7 separate regions of the Homo sapiens genome follow, and all the other regions are linked to region 1. Evidence: promoter capture Hi-C in 16 types of primary human blood cells and fetal thymus (Javierre and others, 2016). All regions are on one chromosome and are shown on one strand. The core of a region is centred on a gene start or on the middle of the fragment in contact, and the rest is flanking DNA. Distances in the headings are between cores, read along the strand shown. Region 1 holds the start of CLDN23 (claudin 23). Region 2 overlaps ERI1 (exoribonuclease 1). Region 3 overlaps PRAG1 (PEAK1 related, kinase-activating pseudokinase 1). Region 4 overlaps PRAG1 (PEAK1 related, kinase-activating pseudokinase 1). Region 5 has its middle 44 kb from the start of FAM85B. Region 6 holds the start of PRAG1 (PEAK1 related, kinase-activating pseudokinase 1). Region 7 has its middle 4.2 kb from the start of MIR4660.

Region 1 (3,461 bases), core at 507-3,006:
TTCACAATAGCCAAAAGGTAAAAGCAATCTAAGTGTCTATGGATGGAAGACTGGATAAACAAAATGTGGTATTTATGCACAATAGAATATCATTCAACCTTCAAAAGGAAGGACATTCTGACACATGCTACAATATGGATGAACCTGGAGGACATTAAGCTCAGTGAAATAAGCCAGTCACGAAAGGACAAATACGGTCCGATTCCAGTTCTATGAGGTACCTAAAGTAGTTAAATTTATAGAGAGAAAAAAGTAGAATGGTGATCACCAGGGCCTGTGAGGGAGGGAGGAAAGGAGAGTTAGTGTTTAGTGGGTACAGTGTCAGTTTGGGAAGAGGAAAAAATCCCAGGAGTGGATGGTGGTGAGGGTATCACAACAATGTGAATGTATGTCATACCAATGAGCTGTACACTTAAAGATGGTTACAACGGTCAACTGTATGTTACATATATGTTACCACAGGTTTTTTTTTTAATTTAAAAATATTCTTTTAAAAAAAGCAGTCACTGTCATTCCTAGTGTTGTCCACTCTGGAATATTCAAAATTATTTCAAACCAATGCTAAATTAACTTGAATTTTAAAAATAGTTTTAATTTTAAACAATTATAAAGGCAATACGTTTTCATTGTAAAAATCTAGAAAATACAAAAAAGTGTTATTAAAGGATAATTTTTAGAAAAAATGTAAACATCGTGACTTTCACACAAATATAAAATGAATATGTGTGAAAGAGGTTATTTAACTCATTATTGAATAAGGAAACCAGTATGATGTTAAAACCAAAGAAGCTGGCCACTTGCCTGCAGTCCTAGCTACTCCAGAGGCTGAGGCGGGAGACTCACCTGAGCCCAGGAGTTTGCAACCAGCCTGGGCAACACAGCGAAACTCCCCAACCCTGTTTAAAATAAATAAATAAATAAATAAATAAATAAATAAATAAAAGAAAAAGGAAAAAAAAAAAGCAAAGAACAAAAGGACACACATATACAGACAAACAGGAATGCTAAAATGAATTTACAAATCAATGCCATACTGGTCAGTATCCATTGGACAATAATCATTCCACTGGGACGAACTCATTAGCCTTGATGTTGGCAAAAGTCATTTGCAATACTACAGGCTTTCTATAATTTATAGAGTTGTAAAATAACCTACAGACGAGAAAGGCCACAGTACACTGTAAAATTAAATAAACCTGCAAAAAACGCTAAGCAGGACATCCGGGAACACTGGTCCCTCTTTCTAGTCCCCTTGAAAGTCTCACAAGGCTGAAAAAGGAAAGTAAAATCCTTGTGTAACCCTTCTGCCCAGAAGTACACTGGCACAGATTCTTTAGAGACGAATTTAATCCAGAGTGTGGAGCCTTTATTAAGGAAATAATCCGGTGCAACGTTCTGGGACACGCTCCTGGACTGGGTGGGCTTCTGCACACTCACCCAGCGCACCTCCAATCCCCGGGAGCGCTCGGCACCGCCCACTTCTCTGCGAGTGGCTGCAAGTTGCAGAGCAAACCAGGGGGCGATCTGGAACCCTCTGGGAGTAAAGGGCTAAGCTATAAGCGCAGGGTCGACGGGCAGGGACCGGAAACAAATTCTAGGAACCGAGATCCGCTGAGCAGCAGGGAAGCTGCGCAGCCACCGCGTCCCGCCAGCGCCGCCTCTTTCCCTCCCCGCCCACCGCCCGCCTGGCCCGGCGGGGCGGCGCGAGGACCCAGGGGCGGGGCGACCTTTGCTCCGGCCGTGAGCAGTCCAGGCCAGGCGTGGCCCAGCCGCCCGGCTGCAAGGTGGGGTGTCCCCGCCGCTCGGATCCCCATCTCACCTGCCGCGGGCGAGGTGGCCCCGCCGCTTCCTGCGCTCACCTCGGGTCCCTCCCTCCCGGGCCAGGTTTGGCCGCGGCAGCCGCCCCTGGGCGCCCGCGCCCGGACCCGCGGTTTCGGTCAGACCCGCCCGCGGGCTGGTTTCGATTAGGGCCAGTAGGAGGGCGGAGCGGCCGGGACGCCAGGAGGGAACTAGCCTAAGTGGGGACGGTCCCCGTGCAGGAGACAAAGAGCGTCCCTGGAGCGATCAGGGCTCAGGAGCCCGACCCGGAGCCCGGGGCGTCCGCGCTGACTTCGGGTCCCCGGAGCCTGGGGCACGGCAGGGAGAAGACGACGGCGGAGAAGGCGACAGCGGAGAAGGAAGGCAGGCTGCAGGGGCGCCGTCGGCGCGGCGGGCCGGGATGCGGACGCCGGTGGTGATGACGCTGGGCATGGTGTTGGCGCCCTGCGGGCTCCTGCTCAACCTGACCGGCACCCTGGCGCCCGGCTGGCGGCTGGTGAAGGGCTTCCTGAACCAGCCAGTGGACGTGGAGTTGTACCAGGGCCTGTGGGACATGTGTCGCGAGCAGAGCAGCCGCGAGCGCGAGTGCGGCCAGACGGACCAGTGGGGCTACTTCGAGGCCCAGCCCGTGCTGGTGGCGCGGGCACTCATGGTCACCTCGCTGGCCGCCACGGTCCTGGGGCTTCTGCTGGCGTCGCTGGGCGTGCGCTGCTGGCAGGACGAGCCCAACTTCGTGCTGGCAGGGCTCTCGGGCGTCGTGCTCTTCGTCGCTGGCCTCCTCGGCCTCATCCCGGTGTCCTGGTACAACCACTTCTTGGGGGACCGCGACGTGCTGCCCGCCCCGGCCAGCCCGGTCACGGTGCAGGTCAGCTACAGCCTGGTCCTGGGCTACCTGGGCAGCTGCCTCCTGCTGCTGGGCGGCTTCTCGCTGGCGCTCAGCTTCGCGCCCTGGTGCGACGAGCGTTGTCGCCGCCGCCGCAAGGGACCCTCCGCCGGGCCTCGCCGCAGCAGCGTCAGCACCATCCAAGTGGAGTGGCCCGAGCCCGACCTGGCGCCCGCCATCAAGTACTACAGCGACGGCCAGCACCGACCGCCGCCTGCCCAGCACCGCAAGCCCAAGCCCAAGCCCAAGGTCGGCTTCCCCATGCCGCGGCCGCGGCCCAAGGCCTACACCAACTCGGTGGACGTCCTCGACGGGGAGGGGTGGGAGTCCCAGGACGCTCCCTCGTGCAGCACCCACCCCTGCGACAGCTCGCTGCCCTGCGACTCCGACCTCTAGACGCTTGTAGAGCCTGGGGGGCGCCGGGTGGCAAAGGACTCACCCCCGCACAGGCCCGCCTGGCTTCGAGTTGGAACCCGGACACTTGCCCCTCACTGGTGTGGATGGAAATCTGCCTTTCGTGGGACCAAACAGGACTCCTTGGACGATTAGTTCAGGTTGGGTTTGGTTTTCTTCTTAAAGAGTTTAGTTTTCCTCTCCAGAGGGATCAGGGTCCTCTTAGGGAGTGACGGGCTTTTCATATATTTTTGCTGAAGAATATATGGAAAGGGTGGCATTTGCGTCACGTGGACCAGGGACAGTGCTGAAATCAGCAGTGCTCAGAAACAATTTAACATGTTGAAACGACAATATTCTAAAATAC
Region 2 (3,637 bases), core at 1-2,500, 320 kb after region 1:
GAGCCTTTAATCCTGTTCTAATCTGAACTGTTAGTTCTTCAGGCTTCTTTTAAAATCATCTTAGGGGATTTCCTTTAATTCTCATGCATTAGATACTATGTCATTTTTCTCCCTTTACAGTTTCATTTTGGAGAAGCATGTTCTAAAGTAGTTTCATGAGAAAAGGTGCTTTTCCTTACAGACTCTTCTGTTTTAACAGTCTTTTAAAACTGAGAAGTATGCATGCAGAAAAGTAGAGTTTTGCCGATTGCTATAAAGCAAATACCCTTGTAACTTCCACCCACTTAACTCCCTTCCTTCCTCCTGGAGTTAACCCTAATTCTTCCTTTCATGGTAATCATTTTCTTATTATTCCTTATAGCTTTAGTATTTAAATGTATATCCTTATATTATATAGTTTTGTCTGGCTTTGAGCACGATATAATTAGTATTATACTGGCTATATTATTTGTTTTTTTTGTTTTTTTTTTTTTTTCAATATTATGCTTGAGATCCATCCACGTCTTGTATGTCACTGCAGTTCATTCACTTTATTGCTATTAATTCCATTGTGTGACTATACCAGATTTGTTTATCTGTTCTACTTTGGCTGGCCATTTGGATTGTTTTTATTTGGGGCTTCCATGAAGAGTACTTTTATAAGCATTGTTGTGCATGTCCCCTGGTGTCTGTGCACTCGTTTTTCTAAGAAAAACCTAAGAGTGCAGTTGCTGGGTCATGGGATATGTACATCATTGACATTACTAGATAATACAAAAATAGTTTTCCAATGGAATTGTACCAGTTTGCACTCTTATCAGTGCTATGTGAGTTTATAGTTACTGTAAGTTTTTGCTAGCATCTGATATTGTCATACATTTTAAATGTTTTGTAAATCTGACGGGTGTGTGATACCATCTCATTGAGGTATCAGCTATCTGGATTGCTTTTTTGCGAACCCCTTATTTAAATTTCTGACTGTTTTAAAAAAAATTGGGTAGTCTGTTTTTTCATTACCTGTGTATTTTACTGGTCTATAGATTTTTACTTTGGGTGCTAGTCCTTTGATTATATTTGATAATCTTTTTGTGTGAATTTATTTTGTTTTTTGGTTTATTTGTCTTTGAGATGAAGTCTCATTCTGTTGCCCAGGTTGGAGTGCGGTAGTGCGATCTTGGCTCACTGCAACCCTGTCTCTTGGGTTCAAGCAGTTCTCCTGTCTCAGCATCCCGAGTAGCTGGGACTACGGGCGCCCACAACCACAACTGGCTAATTTTTGTATTTTCAGTAGAGACGGGGTTTCGCCATGTTGGTGAGGCTGGTCTCGAACTCCTGGACTCAAATGATCTGCCCGCCTCGGCCTCCCAAAGTGCTGGGATTATAGGCGTGAGCCACTGCACCTGGCCTTTTGTGGATCTTTTTTTGTGTTTTTGAACTCATTTTGTGAATTTTTTTAAAAATTGTGTTATGGAAAATTTCAAACATAACAGAAATAGGTATGAGTCCTCATGACCCAGGTTCAACAATTAGAAACTCATGGCCAGTCATGTTTCATGTGTATCCCCACCCACTTTCCTCTTCCTTATTATTTTGAGGCAGAAGTCAGACATTATGTTATCTGATCTGTAAAAATTTCATTACGTAGCTCCAAAAGCTAAGGGTCATTTTCTTAGAAACACAGCTACCATACCATTGTGACATCTTAAAAAATTAGCAGTAATTCCTTCATCAAATAGTCATAAATATTTTCTTTTACCTTTTGTGTGTTGAGTCAGATCAGGATAAGGTTCACAGATTTGTAGTTGGTTAATATGTCTCTTAAGTTTTTTAGTCTTTGATATGTTTGGTATGTTAATACATCTCTTTAGTTTTTTTTAATCTCTTCTTTTTCTTCCCTAGCAGTTTATTTTACTTTATTCTTTTAAGAAACTGAGTCATTTGTCCTGTTGTGTTTCCCCTTATCTGGATTTTGTAATCATATCCTGGAATGTGGTTTCAGAGGTGTCTCTGTCTTTTGTATTTCATGTCAGTTTATACTCCAGTTGAGAAGCTCGATCCCCTTTAGGTTCTTTTTTTGCTACAACTCCCAGATGGAATAATTTTTATTATTAAAAATTAATAAACCTTAAAATAATTTTCAGTCAGTTATGCATAAATCTACAGCTCACAGTATATTAGTGTAATCGGAAAGTTGTAGATATTATAAGGCAATAAAATGCTCCCTCCTTTTTTGAGTAAACAGTGGTTTCTCTTTGTGCACCTGTTTATTTTGGCCAGTTTGTTAGCCTGCTCTTTTTGTGTGTGGTTTTCCCCTCTTCGTAATAGATAACTATAATGCAATTAGTTGTATAAGTAGAAGAAACTTATGTTTTCCTTCTTTTTTTGTACCTTATCTAAGACCTAAATAAAACTCTCTGTCACAAGTTTCTGCTGTATATAATGCTAATAAGGTATATTATATGGTATGTCTAAAAACATTTTTTTTTTAAGTAAAAATGACTTTTTTTTTTTTTTTTTTTTTTTGAGGCGGAGTCTCACTCTGTCTCCCAAGCTGGAGTGCAGTGGCATGATCTCAGCTCACTGCAGCCTCTGCCTCCCGGGTTCAAGCAGTTCTCCTGCCTCAGCCTCCCGAGTAGCTGGGATTACAGGCATGTGCCACCACGTCTGGCTGATTTTTTTGTATTTTTTAGTAGAGACGGGGTTTCACCATATTAGCCAGGCTGGTCTTGAAGTCCCAACCTTGTGATCCGCACACCTTGGCCGTCCAAAGTGCTGGAATTATAGGCATGAGCCATTGCGCCTGGCCAAAAATGACCTTCTATCCAGTCTTTCTTGGGGGCAAAGGGTGGAAATGGGTAATTAAACTTGGAGCTTAATTTAAAAGGCAAATAACTGTAATACATTTCTGTGAAATAATTCGCTTAGGATGGGACTTGGTTTTTCTAAAAGTAGGCTGAAACAATATAAATAAAAATACAGTTTAAGACAGATTTTTGTATAAGATTTTGGGGGAAATCCCAAACTTTCTTTGTGCGTGGCATATCAAGCGCAAATGTGGAGTTAGCATTTACAAAATTATACAGCTGTTTCTTTTTGCTTTTCTCTTCTTTTTTCTCTTTTCTTTTCTTTTCTTTTCTTTTCTTTCAAGACGGAATCTCACTCTGTCATCCAGCCTGGAGTGCAGTGGTGGGGTCTCAGTTCACTGCAACCTGCGCCTCCTGGGTTCAATCAATTCTCCTGCCTCAGCGTCTCAAGTAGCTGAGATTACAGGTGCCTCCCACCATGCCTGGACTAATTTTATTGTATTTTTAGTAGAGACTGGCTTTCACTATGTTGGCCAGGCTGGTTTTGAACTCCTGACCTCAAATGATCTGCCCCCCCTCGGCCTCCTAAAGTGCTAGGATTACAGGCATGAGCCACCAGGCCCAGCCTCTTTATGTTTTTATAGGCCTATGTATATGCATTACAATGCTGTTGTTGAAGTAAAAGGAAAGGATGAAATACACCTCTTGACTGTAAAATGTGTTTTCTTTTTTTTTGTCCTCCCTTTACAAATACTCAATTTTAGATTGAATTTAAGATAAGCTCACATGGATTCTTTTTCTCAGGAAATTAGACAATTTCTGCCTTTGCTCTTCATGCATGTTAAAAAAAAAAG
Region 3 (3,849 bases), core at 25-2,524, 340 kb before region 1:
ATCATTTTATGGCTTATTCTTCTAGGGTCTTAAAAATGCTGTGAATGTTTTTAAATTTGCTTTTTGGTCTTATTTTTCTCATTTGGATCATTATTCCATCTGCAGTCCACTTTTACATACACTATATGACACTATATGGCAGGATTTCAATGTTGTTTTTTTTTTTGTTTTCTCCATACAGTCAACAAGTGTGCCAAAATCATCTCGTAAGCAATCTGTACTTTTCCTACCAATGTATGGTCACGGCTCCACCTAAAAGAAGTCTTCAATATTTAGCGATCAAATGAATGTCAAGATGGAATCTCAGACCCTGAACTGTAAGGATCTTCTCTATTCTACATGCAAAGTACTCCTTATCTTTCTCAGGTTTCTGCTTTTTGTAGGAAACACAGACAAGCATTGAGAGTGTTTGGGATCAAGGGTCTGGAAATTGTCTGTACAGACAATTTCCTTGTTTCACGTCTTGAAGATGACATGAATATAGAGAAGATATTTTGAAAGATTTGAAGAAAGGATACCAAGGAAATATGACAGGTCAGCAAATATCTCTGTCCTGGTTTTCTTCTATTTTCTCCTAGGGAGACATGACCTGTTTTCAATCAAGCATCTCTATAAAAATGATGGTCTGTCTTTTCACCAGTGGAGAAGATTCAGAAAAACTATAAGTAGTATGTGTTAGGAAAACAATAGTTTTGTTTTCATCTTCCCAATTTAAATTATGTTACATCACTGAATTTTCATTGTTAAACTATCCCTCCCAAAGATTCTGACACAGCTCCTGCATCTGCCACCTCACTCCCCAATCCTGGGCACTGAAAATCAATACAACGGCTGGACATGGTGGCTCACACCTGTAATCCCAACACTGTGGGAGGCCAAAGCAGGTGGATCACCTGAGGTCAGGAGTTCGAGACCACCTGACCGACATGGAGAAACCCCGTCTCTACTAAAAATACAAAAAATTAGCCCGGCATGGTGGCAGGTGCCTGTAATTCCAGCTACTCGGGAGGCTGAGGCAGGAGAATCACTTAAGCCCAGGAGTTGGAGGTTGTGGTGAGCTGACATCGCGCCATTGCACTCCAGCCTGGGCAACAACAGTGAAACTCCAACTCAAAAATAAATAAATAAATAAATATATGCAACAAGCCAAAGAGAATAAGGCTAAGTGGGCTGAGTGCAGTGACTCACACCTGTAATCCCAGCACTTTGGGAGGCCAAGGAGGGTGGATCACCTGAGGTCAGGAGTTTGGGACCAGCCTGGCCAATGTGGTGAAACCCTATATATATATATATACACACACATATATATATACAAAAATTAGCTGGACATGGTGGTATGCCCCTGTAATCCCAGCTACTTGGGAGGCTGAGGCAGGAGAATCTCTTGAACCCAAGAGGTGGAGATTGCAGTGAGCTGAGATCGTGCTTGCACTACAGCCTGGGTGACAGAGTGAGACCCTGTCTCAAAACAAACAAACAAACAAACAAACAAAATAAGGCTAAGTGAAAACACATTGCTTAATAAGATTTAAGGATAGAAACAGTAAATTGAAGGTCTATAAAGGAAAATAATCCTTTAAATAATGGGTAATAAACTTAATAGTAACTGTTATTTACTAAAATGCAGAGTTCCACAAATGGTTAAAATTCATGGGACGTTCATAATCACTCACTAAGAAGAAACAAGACATTTTGGCATTTCGGTCTAAAATTAGAGTCTCTATTCAAAGAGAATGGCCGTCATCTGCCAAACAGAAGTGGCTAGACAGAGTCCCCCTACCACCCAAAGGCATGGGAATTCTTTTTTTTTTTTTTTTTGAGACGGAGTTTCACTCTTGTCATCCAGGCTAGAGTGCAATGGCATGATCTTGGCTCACTGCAACCTCCAACTCCCGGGTTCAAGCAATTCTTCTGCCTCAGCCTCCTGAGTAGCTAAGATTACATGCGTCTGCCACAATGTCTGGCTAATTTTTTTACTTTTAGTAGAGACAGGGTTTGACCATGTTGGCCAGGCTGGTCTTGAACTCCTGACCTCAGATGATCCTCCTGCCTCTGCCTTCTAAAGTGCTGGGATTACAGATGTAAGCCACTGAGCCCAGCTGGGAACTCTTAAACTCTTGAATTACTAACAAAAATGGGTATTAACCACTTGAGATTTTGCACTTTATTTTTATCTTTTTTTTTGAGACAAGATCTGACCTTGTCACCCAGGATGGAGTGCAGTGGTGTTACCATGGCTGACTGCAGCCTTGACCTCCTGGCTCAAGCAATCCTCCCACATCAGCCTCCCAAGTAGCTGTAACTACAGGTATGTGCCACCATGCCCTACTCATTTTTGTAATTTTTTTTGAGGTAGTGTCTCGCTATGTTGCCCAGGCTGGTCTTGAACTCCTGGGTGCAAGTGATTCTCCTGCTTCCCAAAATGGCTAGGATTACAGGTATGAGCCACCGTGCCCAGCTACATCATGCATTTTAGAAGACAAATTTTAGATTTTATGGCTGAATCAGCAAATAGCCAGCACATGACATGTATCTGCACCCCCACCTCCCTACAACCTGCAGACACCACAAATAGATGATGGCCAGCATTCCTGATGCATGGGCTCCAAATGATCAGAATTGGCATGGAGGATGCAACCCAAGTGTTCTCATGGTTCAACAATATGCAGTCATAAAATCTTACCATCCTTTTGATCTGTACATAATATAAGAATTACGGGTGGATCACATGAGGTCAGGAGTTCAAGACCAGTCTGGCCAACATGGTGAACCCCATCTCTACTAATAATACAAAAATCAGCCAGGCATGGTGGCAGGCGCCTGTAATCCCAGCTACTCGGGAGGATGAGGCAGGGGAATCGCTTGAACCCGGGAGGCAGAGGTTGCAGTGAGCTGAGGTCGTGCCACTGCACTCCAGCCTAGGTGAAAGGAGCAAGACTCCATCTCAAAAAAAAAAAAAAAAAAAAAAAAAAAAAAAAAAAAAAAAGAATCGCGTTAAGTGATGCCACCACGCTGACTGCTTTTAAAATTGGACTCTCCCTCCTTTTCTTCGTGACCTTCAAGGTCATAAGGTCATATTACTTACTACTATGTCAATTTATCTCAACTGTTCTTGTATGTATCTGGTGGTTTTGTTTTTTGTTTTTTGAGATGGAGTCTCGCTCTGTCACCCAGGCTGGAGTGCAGTGGCGTGATCTCAGCTCACTGCAAGCTCCGCCTCCTGAGTTCAAGCAATTCTCCTGCCTCAGCCTCCCGAATACCTGGGATTACAGGTGCGTGCCACCATGCCCAGCTAATTTTTTGTATTTTTAGTAGAGACGGGGTTTCACCACGTTAGCCAGGATGGTCTCAATCTCCTGACCTCGTGATCCACCTGCCTCAGCCTCCCAAAATGCTGGGATTACAGGCGTGAGCCATCACGCCTGGCCGTATATAGTGTTTTTTAATTTCATTAATTTTGACTGCCATATGGAGCTCACAAAGAGCAGAAGCTATTCTGAAGAGCTTTCTACACCTCAGGAACATAAAGTAATATCACCACCAGCTATTTGTTTAGGTTTTAGACTTTAGAAAAGTTATCATAGCACAAGTATAAATTGGTATGAAATGGCTAAAAACCAAACTACTGGGAAGTTGGGGGGAACATTCAACAGTGATAGGTATACTGGAGAGAAAATATCTGAGAACAAAAATGAACGACTTTTTAAAGTAGCCTTCGGCCTGGAAGCTCCTCTCATGATCCAACAAAGAACAGCTGTTTATATAAGTCTGCCTGTCAGAGAAGCACAGAGAAGCCGTCCAGTGCATCAGACTGAAGCTAATTAAAGCAGGGAATTTTACAGAGTTGTA
Region 4 (3,778 bases), core at 699-3,198, 360 kb before region 1:
ATTGCGAAAACTACCCTGTAAAACCATCAAGGACCAGTTGCTGTATAAATGAGATCAGTAAAGATCTGGTTCTGATAAATCTAGGACCAACATTTCCAGGACACAGACCCAAGAAACAGACTGGAGGATTAACAAGTCAATTCATGGTACTTACACCAGCTATTTATGATGTGAAGAAAAAAAGAAAGTAGAGCCATATCTCATACCGTGTAGAAACACGAATTTTCAACAGAAAAGAAACACCCATTAAATTTTAAATTCATCAGAAAAAATAACGAGAAAACTTTATGAACTTGGGGTAGGAAATAATTTTTAAAATAAGGGCTAAAAAATAGCAATATAAAGAAAAAGATAAATCTGACTACTTTAAAATTTAAAACTTCTGCCTCATAACATAAAAGTCACCATTAAAAAGTGAAAAAAAACAAACCTTGGAGTGGCCAACTCACATCTTTGCAACCCGCATTACTAATAAAGTACTGGTAGGCAGAATAAAAAAGAGTGCCTATAAATCTAAGAAACAGACAAATGACCCCATTTTTAAAATGGAAATGAACAGGCAACTCACAAATGAAACAAGAAAGGCCACTCAACACATGAAAAGATTATTAAAATTATGAATGATCAGATTGTAAATAAAACAAGATTTCATTTCATACCCATCAGATCAGACTGACAACGTCAGATTTTGTTAAAGATATAGGGAAATAGGAACTCTCTCACACTGTTTGTGAGACTGTAGATTGGTAAACTCACACACAGGACAACAATGTGATGAATCTTGTAAAGTTAAATACACACATTCCTATAATCCAGTCACTCCATTTTTGGGTATATGTCCTTGAGCAATGTTACTTAAATAACTAGTAATGAATGAATGGCTAAGTCACTTGAGTGGGTCACTAGCAGTTTACTGACCAGCAGTTTATTTTAACAAAACAGAACAGAACAGAAAATATGAAAATACATAGAAAGGATTTGTGAAACTTTGTTTTGTAAAACTTTTGTTTCAGATGTGTGTTTGTTGGGTCATGATATTAATGTTTCTTATTGTGGGTCATGGTTTTTAAAAAAGGTTAAAAATTACTGCTCTAGAATATGAGTCAACAAACTTTTCCTTAAAGGGCCAGATGGTAAATATTTTAGGCTCGTGGACCATAAGGGTTCTGTTGCAACTACAGAACTCTGCTGTTGTAGCTGGAAAGCCACCATAGAAATTAGTGGCATGTTTTCTAATAAAGCTTTATTTACAAAAACAGATGTCTTGCATGTGGGCAATCAGTTACTGGCTGGTCTTGACCAGCCTTGTCCAATAGAATTATAATGCAAGCCATATATGTAATTTTAAGTTTTCTGGTAACCACATTTAAAAAATGTAAAATAAATGGGAAAAAATAATTATAGTAATACATTTTATTTAACATAATGTATTCAAAATATTGTCACTTTAAGCAGTAATCAGTATAACCTATATCAATTATTAATGATATATTCCATATGTTTTTTTCATCCTAAGTCCTTAAAATGTGGCATGCATTTTATATTTACTCACATTGCAATTCTGACTAACCACATTTTAAGCTAGTGGCTACCATACTGTGCAGTACAGAGCTGGAGAAACTCTTATAAGTGGAGAAAGGTGTTCACAACGTTACAAATAGCAAATAACCTTCTAAACTGTTGAACGGTGCTTCCACAAAGGAATGAAAACATTGTGGTATAGTCTTTTGGTGGGATACTTTATAGCAGTAGAAAAAAATGAACTGGATTTTAGGGTAGCAATATGAAGAAATATTTTAAAATGCTGAGTATTAAAAGTAATTTACAAAAGGCTCAAGTAAAATGTGATGCCATTTGTATAGAGATTAAAAACATATAAGGATATATACATGTTTTACGGAGCACATAATAAAATGTAAATGATACTCATCAACTTCAAGACAGTGATTGCTCTGGGTAGCAATGGGAGGTTGAAATGGGAATTGGATAGGGAGGGATCTTCCACAGTAGCAGTAACATTTTATTTTTAAAAAATCTAAAGCAAATGGCAAAATGTTAATATTTGAAAAATCTTAGGGAACACCTGCAGGTCAGTTAAATTATTATCTGAACTTCACTGCATGCTTGGAATATTTGATACACTAAAAATGAAAATTTCTAGTGAGAAAGCAAATCACAGGGCCTGAATGAGGCAGGGGGTGGCTGCTCCTGTTGATCTGTTGTTGCGCCTCTGGAAGGCAAACAACACACAAAATAACACAGTGGGATTTCCATCAGACCCCTCAGTGGGAACAGGCAGTCTCAACGAGGGTTGGTTCCACCACAGAGCACCCCTGTGGCTGGAAACAGTTGCATCATAGACCTAACTACTCTTTTAAGACTTGGGAGTTAATTCTTCTGTCTATAGTTACTATAGCAGAAGTCACTGTTGTCAAAACTCTCATCAAGTGAATGCAGACAAAATTAGTCTATCCCTGTGATTACAGGATAAATTATCCGCAGGGTGTGTGTGTGTGTGTGTGTGTGTGTGTGTGTGTGTGTGTGTGTGTTAGGGAGGAAGGGAGCCTCCCAAAGTGGACTTTGGTAAATCTTAGTTTCTAAGCCACAAGTGGAATTTTCATGGCTTTTGGGATCTAACTGCTTCTTCTTTATTGGAAAAGCTTGAGAAATCCAGCTTCCTGCCAGGTCGCTAAAACCCAACAGGTGACCAGGCATCGTGGCCCAAGCCTGTAATCCCAGCACTTTAGGAGGCCGAGGTGGGAGGATCACTTGAGCCTGGAAGTTTGATACCAGCCTAAGCAACATAGTGAGACCCTGTCTCTACAAAAAAAAAAAAAAAGAAAGAAAGAAAGAAAAAGAAAATCAGAAATCAGTAGGCATTTGGAATGCTCAGTTGTAAATGGGGATATAACAGGTCTTCCAAAACACACGTAGGTGACCCTTTTGCTTAATAGCAAAATCTTAAGGCTGGGCACAGTGGCTCACACTTGTAATCCCAGCACTTTGGGAGGCAGAGGCGGGTGGATCACTTGAGGCCAGGAGTTCGAGACCACCCTGGCCAACATGGTGAAACCCCACCTCCACTAAAAACAAACCAAAAAATTAGCCAAGCACGGTGGTGTATGCCTGTAGTCCCAGCTACTCAGGAGACTAAGGCAGGAGAATCGCTCAAACCCGGGAGGCGGAGGTTGCAGTGAGCTGAGATGGCACCACTGCACTCCAGCCTGGGTGACAGAGCGAGACTCTGTCTCAAAAATAAAATAAAATAAAACCTTAGGACTGATGACTCTTTCTTATGAACTGCATTAAAAAGCATCCGCCCTGGAAACCTGTGCAATCTGTACTTTTTGAGAATTGCCACTTTAATTAGGGCATGAGCAAAACCACATCAAATTAAAAAATGAACAGGAAGCTTGCCATCAAAGCACAGACTTACAATCAAGTTGTTTGGGTCTTTACACTGTGTGTAAAATAGACTTCTTAAGAATCCCTGGAAAAGGCTTACTATTGCAATGATGACTTTTCTGAGCCCTAAAGGATTGTTCTATCAGATGTGAGGCCAAAAGACAATGAGTGTACTCAATGCGGTATAACAAGACTACTTAGCCTTTTTTAAAGGCACTTTTCCTTCATTAATAATAATTTGATCTGTCTTTCACAAAACTGGTGCAAACCATCTGCAAAATACTTCCATGGACAAAAACCTCATACTCCAGTCTTTTCTGTCTGTTTGGTGAATAACATTCTTATCATCTACAGTGAGAGTACAGTCTCCACA
Region 5 (3,920 bases), core at 101-2,600, 430 kb before region 1:
GCTGATATTCCAGAAACCAGAGGGCCTCCTGGGCCCTTCAAGGTGTCTGAGGCCACCAACCCTATGGCTTTCTGCCTCTAGCTTCCCTCTTTTGAAAACATCCACACCACTCTGCATAGCTCCCTGCGACACCAAGAGCACCCGCCAAGGACCCAACAGGGGCTCCAGGAATTGATCCACTGTGACAATGAGCCCACTTTCCTTCTTTGAAATGCAGGCTCCAGAAATCTTTAGAGGCTTCTCCCAGGCAAACCTAGAGACATTCTAAAGGAGAAGGCCTGCTGGGAAAGGGGTCGGGGGCGGGTGTTAGTTCTGAGCCATTTTAGTTCTTCTAAATGTGGTCTGCATGACTTCTCAGTCATGGCCCCCTCTTTGGGTCTTGCCCGATACTCTCTCTCCGCGGTTCTCTTCTGCCTTGTTTTTCTAACCCATTTGGCACCTTACCTTACTTCCCATTCATTGTTTGGCTCCTGGGATTGCTGTCCCAGTTTGGAATGTTTATTTTGGCCCTGACTTTGCATTCTTCCAGGGACTTGGTTTTCAGTATTTACCTATCTGTACATTGCCCCATGACTCCCAGAGAGAAATACCTCCTTCCTCTGCCCCACCCTACCCACAGACTGAGTGTGTACTCTGGCCAGCCTCATCTGAGGCAGAGATAAGTCCATAATCGACAGTCATCCTTCCTTTCCTTCTACTTTGTGAAAGCTGCTGTTCCTTAAGTGTCTTGCAGAGGCAGGAGAGAGGTCATCGGAGTAAACCGATTCTATCCCCTATGGGAATTACTGGTACCCATTACCTACTTAACACTTCAGGTTATATCTTAAATATATGTTTGATTTTTAGAAGTCAGGAAATGTAACAATACAGAATGAATTATTTAATATTTGGGGTGCAAGAAGCCCCAAGCTGGTGTTAGTCGCTCCTTCCTGGGAGATGGAAACTCCTCACATCCACTGGGAGCTGTGTCTTGTCCCCACCTCTTTCCTTACTCAACTTCTGGATAAACAGATCCCATAAATGTTTAATTTTTTTTTCCAGTGGCTTTTGTGGTTGTCATAATGGGCATCAAAGGTATGGAAGAACATGGGTGCCCCATTTCTTGTGTGATTTGGGGGTTTGGGTAGTGAAATATACATTTGTTCTAACCAATGTTGCTTCTTTACTATTTCCTTTAAGTTGTTGCAAAAAGCTGGCATATGGAACTGCTGGCTTCGAATTCTGTCTTAAACATCCCTCCAATTATTACTTTTGTTTTCTCAGCTTCACTTAGTAGAAAAACTCCATAGAATGAAAGACATGGAGGGAAATAAAATTAGATTTAAGCAGGGCACGGTGGCTCATGCCTGTAATCCCTGCACTTTGGGAGGCTGAGACAGGTGGATCACTTGAGGCCAGGGGTTCGAGACCAGCCTGGCCAACATGGTGAAACCCTGTCTCTGCTAAAAATACAAAAGTTGGCCAGGCATAGTGGTGAGTGCCTGTAGTCCCAGCTATTCGGGAGGCTGAGGCAGGAGAACCGTTTGAACCCAGGAGGCAGAGGTTGCAGAGAGCTGAGATTGCACCAGTGCACTCCAGCCTGAGTGACAGAGTGAGACCCTACCTCAAAACAACAACAACAGCAACAACAAAATCAAAAACAAACAAAAAATAAATTAAAGAAAGGGATCAATTAGATTTTAAAGTAGAAAGTGACTGATGTCTTGAATTTCAGGTATCAATCCAGGTTCTGTTCCTTCCTTATACCTTGATGTAATGAACACTTATGAATTGCAGATAAGCAAAACCAGCTGCTAGGCATGGGGAATATTCACCTGCTTTATCTCTATGATAGATATTTTAAAATGTAATGAAACTATCAAGGTTAATAAACCAACTATCAAGGCCATTAACAGGTGACGTCTGGTTATATTCATGATCCACATGAACCTGAGTCAGAAATGCATATAAACTGTTGTTTGATTTTAGAGGCTCTAAGGGTAGGGAAACATCTAGAAATAACCATTTTTCTGTACTTCTCACCAAGTCTTTACAGAAAAAGTCACCCTAACTCCTAAACCCCCAAACAGGAGCCTTTGAAATTATTTATGCAGACAGTTCTCTCAATAATTGCCAAGCCCAGATCATTAGTAGTAATTACTCCAGTTGTTTTTATAAGGCTGATAAATAAAAGGTTTGAATCAACATATAAAACTTCCTAGAATGTACAAGATCTGTGAAACTCTTGTAACATAAAGGGATATAATGATACTACGGAAAATCAGCAAAGCAAACAGTCTCATTTTGGGATCTCATTTAGCGTCCACATACAAACAGGGACACTGTCATGACTATTCTCAGGAAACTTCCCCTGAGCCAGTGAACGATTTTCCAGTATCTGCTCAGGGCTACGGTCCAGTGATAACGGGTGACACATGAGGTAAGAGGTTTATGTCAGCGTCAAGTTGATATTGACAATAGTTTGCAAGTTTATTTCAATGAGGTGGACTTCGAGTTTGCGTATATGTACATTCTTTGGGTAGGATGTTCACTTTCCATCCTAGAATGATAATAATTTTGTTATCTCAAAAAATGGAATGATTTCTGGAACATTTATCTATTTACCATGGCAAAGCCAGGAAATGTGTCTATTAACATTCAAAATAAGAAGCATATTTGTAGCAAAAAAAAAAAAAAAAAACAGAAAAAAGTAGTGTTTCCTAAGTTGAATACCTTCCAAACATTTATGCGTTCTTTGTTTAATTTGAACCACTGACAATAGTTAGTCAAGTGCTATAGCCCTTTTTTAATTTTCTGTTTGAGAAGCATAGACTGAGAGGAGCCAAAAGTCTGAGAAATTCAAAATTACTATAAAACTGCCCCATTTTTCTTAATTAAAGAGTAGGCTAGTCTGATTCATAGAGACAGGCCTGAATTGGAGAACCCTGTATAAAAAACGCAATTTATGGCAGCACTTGACAGGGATAGGGGAATCAAATTAAAAGCTTAGAGAATTTTAAAAAAACTAATAAAAATGAATCATTTGTTACTCACTTATTATTTGTATATAAAGGCTACTACGAGGTTGGTTTCTCATGTTGTTTTGGAAAAAATGCATTTGCCTTAGCGTTTAAGTAGACTAAACATGTCTCTTCGTTAATCGTCACTGGCAGTGTGGTCTGTCTGGAATGACTCCAAATTCCCAACTAATAGAGTCCAAATTAATAAACTATGTTGGCTTTGCCAATATTATGCTGGTTACAGCTACATCAGTTGCTGGCTTTGGGGAGGGATTTATTTTTTTAACAGTCGCAGAAAAAGAAGGTACCAGTGTGTAACAAAATGGTTGTACATTCCCGCTATGGCCACCAGAGGGCTATACACCATTACAAATACTCCAGGCCTCGCTACTGAAATGCGATTACAGGCAAGCAGTGTGGGTGTCCTCACTGGTAAGAATCTCCAGCCTGATCCCAGACCTGCTGAATCAGAACCTGCAGCGATGTGACTTCAGGGAATTCATGTGCACATCAAAATTTGAGAACTTCCAGGCTGGGCGCAGTGGCTCACACCTGTAATCCCCAGCACTTTGGGAGGCCGAGACAGGTGTATCATTTGATGTCAGGAGTTCGAGACCAGCCTGGCCAACATGGTGAAAGCCCGTCTCAGCTACTTGGGGAGGCTGAGGCAGGAGAATTGCTTGAACCCAGGAGACAGAGGTTGCAGTGAGCCGAGGTCGCACCACTGCATTCCAGCCTGGGCGACAGAGTAAGACCCCATCTCTTCTCTAGGTTATGGGAAGAAAACACTTTATATTTTGTATATGATCAGAATTTGAAGATATAAAAACTGGAGGCATTTGTCATCCAGTCTCAAGCTCAGTTTCTTGTCTCCCGATTTTTCCTATCTGCATTACAGCCCAAAAACTCTTCTCTTCGTAA
Region 6 (3,864 bases), core at 429-2,928, 320 kb before region 1:
CCACAGCATGGGGAAGGCACTTCGCAGCCCACATTCCTTACTTCTGAGGGGAGGCAGCCCCCAGAATTATGCAAATCCTCCCCATTTCAGTAGGAGGCTGCAGTGTCAGATTAGAAAAAAGAGCTCAGCATTCTTTCTGATCCAAGTCATGAAAAAAATGTCTTTGCCTCTGCAAACTTCTGCACTAGATTTGTGGCTACAGTTTGCAAGACTGAAGCTGTCAGATACACTCCCACCCCATTTCAAAAAAGAATCTGAAGAATCAAGGTGGCCAGATCTTTAAGATTAAATATTTTGGCCCAAAATACCCCCTCAGACTTACATCAGAAGTTGCTTATGCCTTATTCTGAAGTGACAGAATTGCAGAAAACATTCACCTAAAATTTTTTTCTGTATGTTACAGTTAAATTAATGCAACGCCAGTAAAAGGAAAGAAATATGTGTGGAAAGTGTCTGAACTTCAGCACACTCCACTGGCCAGGGCTGACCAGGCAGAAAGGAGAAAGTGACAACTTTACCACCCACTAGCCCCCTGCCTCCCTACTCACGCAGAGGGTAAATTACGATATTCACCCAACTTTTCCTTTTCTTTTTTCTTCCTCCAGTGCTGGAGGAAAGAAAATCTCAGAGGGAGGAATGTGGTTTTGCACCCACTACAGTCGAAACCAACCAGACCTCAGGAGAGAAAAATAACTGCGGAATTCCCTAGGGCTTTCTGTCAAATTTTCTTCTCAGAAAGGGAAGGGGAGAGGAGTTGTTAAGAATAGTTCAGGCCAGTGATCAGGAAAGCCTTCTGAGCCTGACTCCGCACTGAATGCATCGCCAAAACTCCTCGCCCCTAGACCATTGGGCTTTGCTATCGGCTCTGCAAAACCATGTGCAGGGAGAGCTTACCTGAGAGAAACGCACACACCGTGAGCTGGCGCTCTCCGCTGCGAATGCCCGGCCGCCTCCATGCCCAGCAGAGGATTCTATGTTCTAAGTGTGTGTGTCCCCGGATACCAGCAAAGGTTAATAACGTGCTCACAGCATGCGTTTCAGAGGGCTCAGCCAGGGCTCGGGGAAAAGGGCATCATCTCGTTGCCTCTGGAGCCCCGCTGCTGCATACCCTGCACCCCCAAACCATCCCCCCGGGTCCTGGTCCCAGCAGCCAGGCGGCCTTCCGTCTCTCCCCCTTGACAATACTCTAGCGGTGGAAAGCAGTCCTCAAAGCGCTTCAGCCTCCGGCCGCAGACAGAGCAGCAAGACCAGAGAAACCATCCTAACAGTCGGTCCTCCCTCCTGGAACTCGTAGGAAAGTTTCCCCGTTTTAAAGAGCGCGATTCTCGAATGAATCAAAAACACCCTCCAGCTCCTCGGTCCTCCCGGCCGGGCGCCTCCCTGCACCTCGGGCACCACCCGGGGCTCACGCGGCCCCGGCACTGCCCACTTCCCGAGCGGTCGCCTGTCACCCCGGGGGTAGCCCGCTCGGCGATCGCAGCGCCCCTCCAAAGCTCCCCTCTGCGACCACGCTCGCCAGACAAAAAGAGGCCGAATTTGGAGAGCGCGTCGCGGGCTCACCTCTGGGCTGCGCTCCCCCGGCCCCTCCGTCGGTCTCCGAGCCGCCAGCCGCCCGGCCGGAGCATTGTTCGCAGAAGGTCTGCGCGCGGTGCGTGCCCGGCCGCGGGCGGGTGGCTTCTGCCTGGGCCCGGCGGCCGGGTGGCAGCTGTGAGCGCGGCTCCGCCCCCTCCGCCTCCGGTGACGCCGCCCGCCCCAGCTCACGCCGCACCTCCGCAGTCCCTGCCGCCGCCCGGCCCCGCCTGGCCCGCGCGCCCCGCCGCCCGGCTTGCGCCTGCCGCTCCCACCCGGCGGTCTCCTACCCCCAGGGCCCCGACTCCTCCAAAGTCTCCAGGCCCCGGGACTCCCTCTCTTGCCCACCCTCCCGCCCCGGACCGGCAGGCTCCGCCCCCAGCCCCAGACTTGGCGCGGGCTGACCCCCGAGCCCAGCACCCGTTTGCACCCCCTCCTCGGTGGGGACCCTGCACAGCTCTGGAGGGGCGAGCTCTGGCGTTGCAATCCTCCTTTTGCCATCATGCGTGTATAGGTGCCCGGCATCACTTCATCCAGCCGGCCCTGCGGGACCCTGGGAAGAGAGGGAGAAGGAAGGGGAAACGAGGAAGTGTGGGGTCGGGAGTGGAATACAGGTCAGGGTCCGAGGCGGGCTCTGAAAGCCACGTGAGCACAGCGAGCCTCAGCTCTCCCTACCTCTGGGAAGAGGGTGGCGCCGGAGGGAGCAGGGCTGGAAGTCCCGGTGGCGGATTCCAGGTTCCGCTCAGTCCCTGGACTGCAGGATTCTGGCAAATTGCTTAACCTCTTTGAACTTTAGTTTTCTGGATGTAGAATGCAAGCGTTGCACTGCAGGGACCTGGCCTTCTACCATGCTGGGACATCCAAGTCTTCCGCAGGCCAGTAATACACCTGTGTTTACACCGTTTCCAGTGAGTCATTCACTGAGATAGAACGAGTTCGAGATAGTCCTCGGGCTAAAAAAATCTTTTCACTGGGAGTATAATAGCTTAAGACCCAGTCAGTCCTGTAGCTTGACCTGGGTGTTTACTCGGGGAGCCAGGGCTATGGTCACCTCCCAGGGCCATGCCGGGTGGGAAGAATTCAGTGAAATGGAATAGGAAGAGGACCCCCCTCCCCCACAAAACAATACCTGCGGCTTCTCTCGCCCTCTATCCCCTCCCCAGGAAGGCAGTTTATTTTGACTCCAGTGAAGGTCCTCTGCCAGTCAGCCTGCGAGCCCCCACCCACTGAGAGGAGGAAGATGGGCCCCCACCCCCACCCCCAGATCCCTGGCTCTCCTCTTTGCTGCTGTGGGTGTGGACAGAGAGGGAAGATGTGTATTTGAGGTTTGGCTTCTGTGTGAGGAAAGGGAAAAAAGGATCCAGGGAATTCTTCCTCATGTTCCAGTGACACCCATGCCTCCTAAGAGGACAGAATCTGGGGGAAGCTGTAGAGGGATGGGAGTGCAATGGACATTCCTTAAGGACCTACCCAGCGCTAAGCAATCCTATGAGGAGAGCATCATTATCCCCATTCTACAGATAAGAAAACTGAGGCTCGGGGGCCTCACAATTTGCTGGGGTTCCTCAGCTGAAAAGTGGTAGTACTAAGATTGGAACCAAAGGCTGTCTGGCTTCGCTGGTAGGCAAGTCTACTCTGCCACTCTGCCCTTGCCAAGTGCAGGTAGTCCAGCCCTATTTTTCTCTCTCCCCTAAGTGGAGAGAAATCATTTGAACAAATACTGGCCGTGCGCGGTGGCTCACACCTGTAATCCCAGCATTTTGGGAGGCCGAGGCTGGCAGATCACCTGAGGCCAGGAGTTCAAGAACAGCCTGGGCAATGTGGTATAACCTCATCTCTACTAAAAATACAAAAATTAGTCGAGTGTGGTGGTGGGCGCCTGTAATCCCGGCTACTCAGGAGGCTGAGGCAGGAGACTCACATGAGCCAGGGAGGTGGAGGTTGCAGTGAGCTGAGATCGCACCACTACACTCCAGCTTGGGTATCAGAGCAAGACCCTGTCTCAAAAAAAAAAAAAAAAAAAAAAGGAAGGGAAACTTTGGTTACACTTCATGAGCATCCAACAGAGCTGAAAGATCCAGACCCTACCAAGACTCAAGAGGGGAAGATGTTGATTAAACAGGTAGGTACAAAGTGGTCTGCAATGGAGAAATACAAAAGTGACTTCAGAAAGTGTGCAATTCATTTACACTGGGAGAGGGCAAACTAAGATGTTTGAGAAGTTCCTGGTTCTCAGGATTCAGGCTAAATGTTTCACTTCTTTCCTCTGTAAGAGAGACATTGACCTCACAGAAT
Region 7 (3,882 bases), core at 528-3,027, 340 kb after region 1:
GATCTCTCTTTTGAGATCCAATTTCTTGAGTATTTCATAGGTGTCACCAGCGTTTTAAATTTTATACATTAAGAAACAAACAGATGCTTATTTCCTCAACTGCTACGCCCTCTCCCGCCTCCAACACACACACAGCCTACTCTTGTGTCACTCAAGTCAGGGAACACCCTCCCATTATACTCAAATCTGCCAGTTCCCTGTTCTTTGAGGAGGTAGCGTCATTTGTCACACCGCAGGCCTTCTGGGGCTTTGTGGCCCTGGAGGAAGCCTAGATGCGATGGGTCCTTGTGTCCAGAATGAAAGTTAGCTAACAAAACTGGAGGGAAGTGTTATGCTTTGAGGAGGTAACACAGGTTGAGCATCCCTAGTGCGAGAATCAGAAACGATCCAAAATCTGAAGCTTTTTGAGTGTTGTCATGATTTCGGATTAGTGATGCTCAACGAATAAATATCAATATAATACGGATATTCCAAGATCTGAGAAGATTCAAAATCTGAAACATTTCTGGTCCCTAGCATTTCAGAGAAGGGATGCTCAACCTACACGTGCACCTGCTTCAGTCAGTTACCCTGCATGCTCCCACGCGCAGTGCCGTATGTCCCCCGGCACATGCTCTGCAGTCTGCAAGGATCTGGAGAAGAAAGGTGTGGCTGCACTTCCTGGCAGTAGACACTTCATTTCTGCTGTTGGAATAGATTGTGTTTGATTCTACTCTTACGTCTAAGGGCATCTCTTTAGGTTTCTGGCCTTGGAACCATGCTTGACTGTGGAAGGGGTACATAATTCGGATTTATTTTTAAGGTGTTATTCTACTTCTTCGTGTATAATTGATGCAAACCATTTCTGACATCCTTCAAAACACTTGTGTCTTCTTGAAACTCCCACCTTTAAGACAAGCAATGAGTGTGTTTTTGTGTGGCTCAGATATGTAGGTGAAACCTGTGTATGCAGCACCCTCCCCCAACCACCCAGTTTCAAGCCCAGCTTTTGTGACGCTTTTGTGACTCAATTATGAATAATCAGAGCTGTGCCTGGACCCCATCATTCTGTCTTACTTTTTACATTCTTCACCCAAGCATGTAGAGGCCAGGCCTAAATCAAAGAGCTCAGAGGAAGTGGTGGTTCTTTGGAGTTCAGGAACATCTCTTATGGAAGATGGAGACAATTGTGGAGAAATCTTTTCATCATCCATGATAGGCAGATGAGATGCAAATAGGCCTAGACTCACTTTGGTAGAAACTTTTAAATAGATAGTTCTAGAAAATTATTATGTATTTGGTATTCCATGAGAGGTTGGGCAATTTTGGAAGCTTTTTTAAAGTTCAGTCCAGTGACACACTATCCATAATTGTGTTGTTTATTGGAGATATTATTTTTGTTTTATTTTCGTTGGAGACAGGGTCTCACTATCTTGCTCAGGCAGAACTTGAACTCCTGTGCTCAAGCCATCCTCCTACCTCAGCCTCCTGAGTAGCTGGGACTACAGGCCATAATTGTATTGTTTATATTCAACAAAGAAATATTTACTGAATATTTAATTCTAATTGAGAAAATAAGGCATAAGCAGGGAAAGATAGTTAACAATGTAAAGTAAGTTTCAAAAGAGGCCTACGGTGTAGCATGGTGTTTAAGGCTATAAGAGATTGGAATTAGACCTGGGTTTAGATCTTGGTTCTGAGACTTACTGGTGGTGGGACCTCAGCAAGTTACTTAACCTTTATGAGCTCCCAATTTTCCTTACAAAACTCTTCATAGGGTTGTTGTCGGAGTTAAATAGGATATCATCTGAATTATGGGTAGTGAATTACAGCTGATTTAGCGAGGGTATCAGAGTAAGATAAAACATCTTCAAATAAAACATCTTCAAAATCCATCATGGTGCGAAAGGATGTCCTTGTTAGCATGGCATGCTGGATGCAGGGCAACAAGTCTAGAGCTCCTTACATTTTCTCTGATTAGCGGATAAGTGATCCCGGATCCTGGAATGGTGCTGAGATTGTTGAAAGAAGCGAGGTGACTTTGGTGTGGGAATCAGGAGGATGTGAGGAACAGAAGGGAAGCCAGCGACCAGGTCAGCAGACACATCACTGCGTCAGTTCAGTAGGAGAGTTCACACTGGCCCCCATACAGGTAGGTCTAGTTAGCAAATTGCCAACTACCCATCATCAACTGGAGATGATGGAGAAATAATTACAATCCATGATGTGGCCAAAGTACACAGAGGACAGTGTAGGAGCAGAAGCAAAGCTTAATGGACTAGGGGGTCAAAGAGGGCTCTTTCAGGTGGAAACACAAGCTAAGCCTTGAAGAACAAATCATGACATTAGAAAGAGAAGCAATCGTTTACCAAGCAGCAGACACAGCATGTTGAAGAAACAGAAACACAGAAACATGAAACACCACTGGAGTCTCCAAGACGGTATTTTCCCAGTGGAGTTCTCCTTTTCCTCAATGTGCAGATAGAGATTCCAAACCTGCCCTTGACTCTCACCCTGACCTGCCACACCTGCATCATCATCTTGCTAACACTGAGCCAGATTTCACATGGTGAGAACTGTTCTGAAATCTCGCCTTAGAGTCCTGACCACGAAGCCCTTAAGAGTAGTAATATTGCCAGGCGTGGTGGCTCAAGCCTGTAATCCCAGCACTTTGGGAGGCCGAGTCAGGCGGATCACGAGGTCAGGAGATCGAGACCATCCTGGCTAACACGGTGAAACCCTGTCTCTACAAAAATACAAAAAATTAGCTGGGCGTAGTGGCGGGCACCTGTAGTCCCAGCTACTCTGGAGGCTGAGGCAGGAGAATGGCGTGAACCAGGGAGGTGGAGCTTGCAGTGAGCAGAGATCGCGCCACTGCACTCCAGCCTGGACGACAGAGTGAGACTCTGTCTCAAAAAAAAAAAAAAAAAAAAAAGTAGTAATATTACGTTCAGCCCTAAGCTGGCTTCTCAGATTTCCACTAGACTGGTTCTACAGCCAGTGCTCTGTAGGGTAGGGACTTCCCCATCCCACTTACGTATACTTGCACTGAAACGAATTGCTCACTCCAGCTGTATAGGTCTAGCCTCCACGAATAGATAGCTTAATAGGCAGGCTCTCATTAGACTTTAGTAGAAACATTCATGGATACCAAAAACTGTGTTTCAGTGGCTCTCAAATCTGATGTATTGACCCTGGGCATGGTGGCTCATGCCTGTAATCTCAGCTACTGGGGAGGCCAAGGCAGGAGGATCACTTGAGCCCAGGAATTTGAGATCAGCCTGGGTAACATAGCAAGACCCCTATTTGTATTAAAATATAAATAAATCTAATTTATCATCAGAATCTATAGAATTTTTTTTTTTTTTTTTTGAGATGGAGTCTCACTCTGTCACCCAGGCTAGAGGGCAGTGGCACAATCTCGGCTCACTGCGACCTCCACCTCCCGGGTTCAAGTGATTCTCCTGCCTCAGCCTCCTGAGTAGCTGGGATTACAGGCATGCATCACCACGCCTGGCTAATATTTTTGTATTTTTAGTAGAGATGGGGTTGCACCGTGTTGGCCAGGCTGGTCTTGAATTCCTGACCTCAAGTGATCCACCTGCCTCAGCCTCCCAAAGTGTTAAGATTACAGGTGTGAGCCACTGCACGTGGCCATATCTATAGATGAATTTTTAATACAGAGTCCCAGACCCCACTCAGAGATTCTAGGGGGCGGAGTTGGGCCTGTGTTAAAGAAAATTCATTTAAAAATTAAATTAAGAAAACAAATTCCCACAGGTAACTGTGATCCTTAGATCTGGAGACCTTGGCTGAGAGGACCGCTGCTGGGCCATCAGCCATCGCCATTGGTCTTGCTGATGGAATGTGACCAGTGAGGTTCTCTGTCCTGAGAAGCGGTTC

Evidence for each region. Contacts are between HindIII fragments. The CHiCAGO score rates a contact against its expected background, and 5 or more counts as called.
Region 2: a fragment that was not itself captured here is called in contact with the fragment with the promoter of CLDN23 in region 1 in 4 of 17 cell types (naive B cells, M2 macrophages, total B cells and 1 more); the score reaches 7.4 in naive B cells.
Region 3: a contact is called between a fragment that was not itself captured here and the fragment with the promoter of CLDN23 in region 1, in 1 of 17 cell types (total B cells). The highest score is 5.5, in total B cells.
Region 4: a contact is called between a fragment that was not itself captured here and the fragment with the promoter of CLDN23 in region 1, in 4 of 17 cell types (total B cells, M1 macrophages, M0 macrophages and 1 more). The highest score is 8.2, in total B cells.
Region 5: a contact is called between a fragment that was not itself captured here and the fragment with the promoter of CLDN23 in region 1, in 15 of 17 cell types (total B cells, naive CD8 T cells, M0 macrophages and 12 more). The highest score is 17.8, in total B cells.
Region 6: the fragment with the promoter of PRAG1 here is called in contact with the fragment with the promoter of CLDN23 in region 1 in 1 of 17 cell types (M1 macrophages); the score reaches 5.7 in M1 macrophages.
Region 7: a contact is called between a fragment that was not itself captured here and the fragment with the promoter of CLDN23 in region 1, in 1 of 17 cell types (total B cells). The highest score is 5.1, in total B cells.

Annotation. Positions count from the first base shown.
Region 1 is chr8:8,700,181-8,703,641 of GRCh38, forward strand. CLDN23 (claudin 23) reads left to right here and starts at 1,757. Exons shown (of 1, transcript NM_194284.3): 1 at 1,757-3,461. The coding sequence starts at 2,219. The coding sequence ends at 3,097. RefSeq lists a silencer at 1,490-2,109 and an enhancer at 1,583-2,550. The HindIII fragment of the contact is 12,864 bases long and covers 1-3,461 here.
Region 2 is chr8:9,021,315-9,024,951 of GRCh38, forward strand. The region is part of intron 6 of ERI1 (exoribonuclease 1); the gene reads left to right. Among named protein-coding and RNA genes, the nearest start is that of ERI1, 20 kb to the left of the region's middle. The HindIII fragment of the contact is 4,770 bases long and covers 1-3,635 here.
Region 3 is chr8:8,364,513-8,368,361 of GRCh38, forward strand. All of the region lies in intron 3 of PRAG1 (PEAK1 related, kinase-activating pseudokinase 1), which reads right to left. Among named protein-coding and RNA genes, the nearest start is that of PRAG1, 20 kb to the right of the region's middle. The HindIII fragment of the contact is 5,911 bases long and covers 1-3,849 here.
Region 4 is chr8:8,342,544-8,346,321 of GRCh38, forward strand. The region is part of intron 3 of PRAG1 (PEAK1 related, kinase-activating pseudokinase 1); the gene reads right to left. Among named protein-coding and RNA genes, the nearest start is that of PRAG1, 42 kb to the right of the region's middle. The HindIII fragment of the contact is 1,419 bases long and covers 1,240-2,658 here.
Region 5 is chr8:8,270,019-8,273,938 of GRCh38, forward strand. No RefSeq gene overlaps it. Among named protein-coding and RNA genes, the nearest start is that of FAM85B, 44 kb to the left of the region's middle. RefSeq lists a silencer at 369-663. The HindIII fragment of the contact is 3,264 bases long and covers 1-2,982 here.
Region 6 is chr8:8,384,761-8,388,624 of GRCh38, forward strand. PRAG1 (PEAK1 related, kinase-activating pseudokinase 1) reads right to left here and starts at 1,679. Exons shown (of 6, transcript NM_001080826.3): 1 at 1,561-1,679. RefSeq lists a silencer at 1,382-2,061. The HindIII fragment of the contact is 9,968 bases long and covers 1-3,864 here.
Region 7 is chr8:9,042,344-9,046,225 of GRCh38, forward strand. It overlaps a transcript of ERI1 not described here. Among named protein-coding and RNA genes, the nearest start is that of MIR4660, 4.2 kb to the right of the region's middle. The HindIII fragment of the contact is 937 bases long and covers 1,310-2,246 here.